Regions from separate parts of the Homo sapiens genome. Here region 1 is linked to region 2. Evidence: promoter capture Hi-C in 16 types of primary human blood cells and fetal thymus (Javierre and others, 2016). All regions are on one chromosome and are shown on one strand. The core of a region is centred on a gene start or on the middle of the fragment in contact, and the rest is flanking DNA. Distances in the headings are between cores, read along the strand shown.

Region 1 (3,580 bases), core at 26-2,525, 940 kb after region 2:
CTTTAAGTGTTTAAGGATATAAAGGAAAACATAAACACAATGAGTATAGAAATAGAAGAGATATAAAAGACCAAGGTGAAACTTTTACAGATTAAAAAAATACAAGATCTGAAATGAAAATTTCTCTGGATTGTTTTAATGTCAGAATAGACCCTACAGAAGAAAATATCAATGAATTATAAGGAACAGGATATATCTCAGAGGAAGTTTAGAGGAAAAGAAAGAATTAAAAATGAGTGGATTAATATCAAGAGGTCTAATGCAAGTGTGATTAGAGTCCCCACAAGCTAAGATGAAGTAAAGCTTTTTGAAGAATTAGCCAAAAATTTGATGAATAGTACATAATCTCACAGATCCAAGAAGTTCAATCAATGCTAACTAGAATAAACACACACATATGTTGTACAAAATACATCATAAAATTGCTGGACAACCGATAAAAATTTTTTTTAAAATTTTAAAGGAGTTGCTGTATCTTAGAGTAGGCGGAGACACATTACATAAAAAGAAAGATAAGAATTTACAGCAATGAGATAATGGAATGACATCTTTAAAGGCCTAAAAGAAAACAACTGTCAAACTAGAATTCTAAAGCCAGTAAAAATGTCCTGAAAAATTAAGGTCAAAGGAAAAAAACAACTTTTTTTTTGACAAACAAAAACTTAAAGAGTTCATCAACAAGAGATCTGCACTGAAATACATGTTAAAGGAAGTTCTTCCAACTGAAATAAAATCATATCAGATCAGATACATTTAGATCTATATGAAGGTATAAAGAACATCAGAAATAGTAAATATGTGGGTAAAATGTCTTTATTTTTTCATTGCTTTAAAAGATAGCTATTTGAAGCAAAAATAATGTAGGATTTTTAATATGTAAAGGTAAAATATATGACAACAATAGTGCAAAGAATTGAAGAGGGAAATGGATATATACTTTTGTAATGGTCTTATATAGTAAGTGGTAAAATACAGTAAAGTTAAATTATAATAAGGAAAAGATATTGAAGCCTAGCGTGAAATGTCCAATATGGTGGCCACTAGCCACAACTGACTAAATTTAAATTTTAATTAATGAAAATGAAATAAAATTAATTATTCACTTTTTCAGTGGCACCAACTACATATCAAATGCTCAGTAGTCACATGTGGCTACCATATTTGAGAGCATAAATATAGAACATTTCCATCATTACTGAAAATTCTATTGGACCTCACTGCTCTTGAATAACTACCAGTAAAGAAAACATAGATATAACAAATAAGTCCAATAGTGGATATAGATGAAATAATAATTTAAAAAACATTCCATTCAAAATAAGGCAAGAAGTGAGGGGGAAAGGAACTAAGATGAAACAAACAGAAAACAAATAGCATGATGAGAGATTTAAAACTATCATATGAATAATTACAAACGCTCTAACCAAAAAGAGGTTGTCATACTGACTAAAAATGCAAGACCCAATTATATTCTGTGTACAAGAAATCTGTTATACTTAAAAAGAGGTTACAAGTAAAATAAATGAAATTATATGTCATGGAAACACTAAACAGAAGAAATATGGAGTGGCTATGTTGATATCAGATGAAGTCAATATTGGAACAAGGAATGTTACAAAGGATAAAGAGAGACCTTTCAAAATGATAAAGTGGCCTGTTTATCAGGAAGACATAATAATCCGGAATGTATAAGCCTCCAACAACAGAGCTTCAAATATACATGAATCTAAAGCTGATAGAACTGAAAAGAGAAACCAACAAAGCCACAATTACAGTTGGATATTTTAATACTTCTTTTTCAGTAATTAACAGAACATTAGAAAATACATAAGGATATAGAGGACATGATCAACACTATTACCATGCAAACCTACTTGACACTCCACCGAACAACAGCAGAATAACACATTCACAAAGATAAACCATATGCTGGGCCACAGAGCAAGTGTCGATACATTTAAAAGGTTAGAAATCATGCATTATGTGTTCTCTGATTATAACAGGATTAAATTAGAAATCAATAGCAGAAGATATATTTTAAATCCCCAAATATTCAATAATTTTAAAATGTACTTCTAAATAACCCATGGGTGAAAGAAGAAATTACAAGGATAACGAGGAAATATTTTGAAATGAATGAAAATCAAAACAGCCATAACAAAATTTGTGGGATTAAAGCCCTACTTGGAGTGAAATTCATGTTTTAAAATGCTTATTTTATTAAAATAAAATCTAGAATCAGTTATCTAAGCTTCTATCTTAAGAACTTAGAAAAAGAAGAGCAAATTAAGCCCCAGATAAAGAAGCGAACAGAAATAAGCAACATAAAAACCTTACAATTAATAAAATCAATGAAACCAAGGCTATTTCTTTAAAAGGACACAGGACTCCTTGGAGAAATAGTTGGTTTCAGGTCTGTAAGTAGAGAACCGCTTAAAACAGCTTGTGCCAGAAAGCAAGGAGGAACTTAAAGAATTGGAAGACATACTAACAGGACACTAGAGCCAGCTTGAAAGGGGATCTGTCTGGCCAAATTAGGGACAGATTGAGCATCAAAATAAATGATAGTTAAGGATTATAACCTGTTCAATTACATAAGAATTCATTATTCCATATGGATATAAACAAATAAATAGCACTGAAGAACAGTTCCAACTAACAGATGTAGAATGAATGGACTTGTAATATCACCACTGGGAAACCATAATGATAATAATTAATACAGGAAAGGTTCATCAATGGACGTTAAACTAGTGGGTTAAAGCTTGGGAATTAAGAATATTTACAGACCCAAACTCCCTTCCCACAAGTATTTTCTAAAGAAGAATATACTAAAATTTTAGTGGATGACCCTTTTAACCAAGTTAACTTTACCAGTAATGAGTCACTTCAGCATCATGTGCTTTCTACTACAAACCACTGAAGAGAACACATCAATTCTGTGGTATCCATGTCCAAAATGTAAATCCTGAATCTAATAATGAAGAAGCATCACACAAACCCAAAATGAGGGATAATTTACAAAAACAACTATCTTGCATTCTTCAGGAATGTCAATTTCATGAAATACAAAGAAAGATTGAAAAACTATCCAGATCAAAAGAAACTAAAGAGGCACAACTCAACGCAATGCTATAACGCGCATGATTGGAAAATTAGCAAAATCAGAATTAACTCTGTAGATTAGATCAGGAGTTGGCAAACTATAGCTTGTGGGACCAAACCAGGTCAATGCTTATTTTTGCAAATGTGTTTTTGGAACACAGCCACACCCATTGATTTATGCATCATCTGTAGCTACTTGCACACTACAACAGTGGAATTCAGTAGTTGTAACACAAACTGTATGTTCTTTAAAGGCTAAAATATTTACTATTTGACCCTATGTAGAAAGTTTTCCAGCCTTTGGATGAGATCATTTTATAGTACACTGATTTTCCTGATTTTGTTGATTTTACTGTGGTTGTAAAAGAAAGTTTCCTTTTAAGAACATAAACTAAATTTAGAATATATACATATATATAGTTTTGTATATATATTTATATATATTTTTGTTGGATGTATAGGTCAGTAATACTAG
Region 2 (3,392 bases), core at 303-2,802:
ACCGCCACCATGAAAATGTAGTGAACCTCAATTGCTTCCTAACCGGAGTGGAGGCGTAGGGACGTGCAGATCCCAGACCATCTTTTTTGAGACAGACAACGTTGGTCAAAGGGATGTTTTGTGGCCTTATAAGTTCCCACCAGACACCCCCAACACAAACACACAGGCACAGCCTCCCAGCAGTCCGTTTCTCCCAGACAAGTAGCAAGACCAGCGAAGGGGTTTAAAAAGTCTGGGCGCCCCTGGGCACACGCACGGCTGAGACGCGCAGCCCAACCCGTCTCCCCTAGAGGCTGCAACCTACCCGGAACCCCAGGTCACCGCGGAGCGGCAGAGGCGGCCTCGGCCAAACGCATCGTCAGATAGATATGTGGCCCAGGGCAGCAGCTGGTCGCCGGGCGCTAAACGCCCCCCCTCCCGAGACCCCGCTTGTTGGGTGGCTCTGAATGTCCCCCGGAGGCCCAGCGGCACAGCCGGGCCTCATCCTCCAGCTCCTCCCGCGGGGGTCGAGCGGGGGCGCGGCCTCGCCCCCTTGGTCTCCCGCGGGAACCCGGCGCTGGCCCGCCCCCGCCTCCTCCCGCCCCCTCGTCCCGGCTGCGCGCGCCGCCGACTCACCGAGCGAAGCCTGCACCGTCTCGGCCGCGGAGAAGGCGAGCAGCGAGCCCTCTTTGGCCAGGAAGCCTTTGCCGTCCTCCGCGTCAGCCTGCAGCGCCTCCGCCTTGTCGAAGTTACCGCCGCCGGGCAGCGGCTGCGGCGCGAACTTGCGGGCCGCTGCCGCCTCCTGGTGCTGGGGCGACGCGGAGAAGCCGCCGGGGAGCGTGGCCATGAGCGTAGAGGTGAGCGCCATGCCCTGCGCCAGGCTGGAGCAGAAGCCTGTGGGCAGGCTGGGGATCTGGTGGTGAGGGTGTGCGGGCGGCAGCGCTGGCTGCAGCGCGGCCTGGGGCAGCGCGGGCGGCGGCGGCGGCGGCGGCGGCAGCACTACCGGCCGGTAGGGCATGAACATGGGGTAGCCGGTGTAGACGAAATGGCCGGGGCTGGGCTGCGGCGGGCTGCCGATCAGCGAGTCTATGCTGAAGGCGGTGCTACTCCCCAGCGGGCGCTGCATCATCATCAGCGACGGCGGGAACGCTGCGCTCATAGACGCGCTCGGTAGAGGCCAGCGAGAGGCGAAAAGTCCCCGCGCCGCGCCGCCGCCGGGAAGCCCGCCGGACGCCGGGAGCACCGCCGGGAGCGCCGGGCAGGGGCCGAGCGGGACCCGGAGAGCAGACGCCTCCGCCCCTCAGTCCTGGGCCCGCTGCATGCCGGGCGGGTGCAGGGGGTGTGCGGGGTGAGGCCGTGCGCCCCGGAGTGGAGAGGGCGCCCGGGCCCCGAGGGCTCGCCGGAGCCCCCGTCCGCCGCTTGCCCGTCGGAGCCCGCGCGCTTCGCGGGTTTGGCCCTCGGCCCCGGTAAGCTGCCGTCCGTCCGTCCGTCCCGCCGTCCGTCGCCTCCCGCGGGCCGCTGGGGAGCGCGCGAAGCCGGCGTACTTATCTCCGGCGGGCGCAGCCAGCACCTTTAAATCGCGCTCCTCTTTCTCATTCACATTTTGCCTGCCGCCTGGCCCGGCTCGCCTCACGTGGGGCTGGGCGCCTCTGGCCATTGGCTGAGCGGGGCGGGGGTGGGGCGAAAGCGGGGCCCCGCCCTTTCCACCCAAGCTGGCCTCGAGCGGGCTGCGGGCGCCACCGTCGGAGCGCGCGGGCCGGGGAGCCGGAGCCTGCATGCCTAGCCCGTGCCGCGCAAACTTGAGACGGGCGGATGGCACCTCCAAGGCTCGGACCTTGGGGCCCTGCAGCCTTGTCGAGGCCACCTCGAAGGGTAGCCTCCGGGGCCCGCACCCCCACGGCTGGGCCGGGGGCGCTTTATTTCTTTTACTGTATTTGCCATGGAACCAACCTGCCTGCGGCTCACTCCAGCGCTGGGTGCTCCGGCTGCGCCTGGGGTCCGGGCGAGGGTCCTGGAGTTGGGGGCAGGGTCCTGCCCCTCCGGAGCCACCCCCGGGGCGAAGGCTGGGAGCTGGCAGCGCCTGCCCGCCGCCAGAAACCCGCCGGGTTGCTCGCTGTAGGTCCGCGCACCGGGTGGGGCGGGGAGGCTGCTGCTTCCCCCATCCCGGGCTGGGCCCTCCCGTGAGCGATCCCGTCTCTCATTTTTCATGACATTCTTAATCATCGCACCTATTTACACACTTTGCCAGCGCGCACCAAAATAACAACCACGATAATTATGATAATAAAGAGAGTCCTTTATCTGCTCCATCCTCGGGGAGGAAGGGGGGAGTTGCTGTGCCTCCAGATTGTATAACGTGAGATTATCCTGATGAAAGCTTTATGATGTTTGCTCAAATAAAAGCTGCGTTTTGTAAATAGGCGCTAATTAAGCACGTTGCGAACGCAAGGAGTGCTCACCCTGGCGCCGCCGCCCGGTTTCCAGCGCGAGGACTCGAGGGCGCGCGGTTCCTCTTTGCTAACTGCAGGATGGAGCCGATCCCCTCAGGATGTTTCCCCTGTTCTCGACAACGGTAAAGACCCCCAAATTTGAAAGTAAGGGAATTTTGGGGTGGAGGGAAACTAGGGACGTACTTATCCCCTCTTCCATTTTCAAACAAAAAACTTTCAGCTCTTGTCTTCCCTTTAAAAATGGAATCACTTCTTGACAACGGCAGACCGTGCAGAGCGCACCAGCGCGAGCGGGGCTTCCTCGAGTCTCCAAGGCCCGGGCTTCAACTTCCCGGGTCTAGACGTCAGCCCTGAACCGCCAACAGCACCGGGTTGGGGAGAAGGAAAGAAGGGCATTGTTAGTTCGGTCATTAAAAATCAGCTCACGCCGAGGAGCTAGTGGTTGGGGAGTTGGCCCGTGTTGGACGTGTGTTATGTATCACTTACAAGCACATTTAATTGGGAGATAAAGATAAATCGATCTTTATGAATTTATCGACCCGATTCTTTGAAGCTCTTTTTTCGCGTTCTTCCTCTTTCTCTCGCTCTAGCCCCAAGGCCCCCCGGGGGACGTCTTAATCCCAGATCAGCTCCTCTGCCAGGAGTCCCGCCGGAGACCCACTGCCCACCCAGCAGACCTGGAGGAAAGAGGGGAGGGTGTGTCCTTGGCGCCCCGGGACGCTGGGAAAACTCGCTGGTCCGCCGCCAGCCCTCTCCTCCTCCTCGCCTCCTCCCTCCCTACCACCACCCGGACAAAGACGTCTCGATCGCGTTTCCCCACTCCAGGCCGCAGTAATAGATCGCTCCGGCAGCAGGCGGTTTGAAAGGAATTCATTAGGACGCTGCCTGGATTGCCTCCCCTGACTTCACGCCCAGACCCCGAGGTGGCTTAGGCAGTGTGAGGGGAAATGAATTCCCTTTGGG

Evidence for each region. Contacts are between HindIII fragments. The CHiCAGO score rates a contact against its expected background, and 5 or more counts as called.
Region 1: a fragment that was not itself captured here is called in contact with the fragment with the promoter of GBX2 in region 2 in 1 of 17 cell types (neutrophils); the score reaches 5.3 in neutrophils.

What each region holds. Positions count from the first base shown.
Region 1 is chr2:237,110,325-237,113,904 of GRCh38, forward strand. No RefSeq gene overlaps it. Among named protein-coding and RNA genes, the nearest start is that of COPS8, 26 kb to the left of the region's middle. The HindIII fragment of the contact is 1,948 bases long and covers 302-2,249 here.
Region 2 is chr2:236,166,834-236,170,225 of GRCh38, forward strand. GBX2 (gastrulation brain homeobox 2) reads right to left here and starts at 1,553. Exons shown (of 2, transcript NM_001485.4): 1 at 616-1,553. The coding sequence starts at 1,138. It overlaps GBX2-AS1 (GBX2 and ASB18 antisense RNA 1), which reads left to right and starts at 609. Exons shown (of 2, transcript NR_186035.1): 1 at 609-836. LOC124906126 (a long non-coding RNA gene) reads left to right here and starts at 2,193. Exons shown (of 2, transcript XR_007088136.1): 1 at 2,193-2,551; 2 at 2,696-2,963. RefSeq lists an enhancer at 1-684. The HindIII fragment of the contact is 5,712 bases long and covers 1-2,354 here.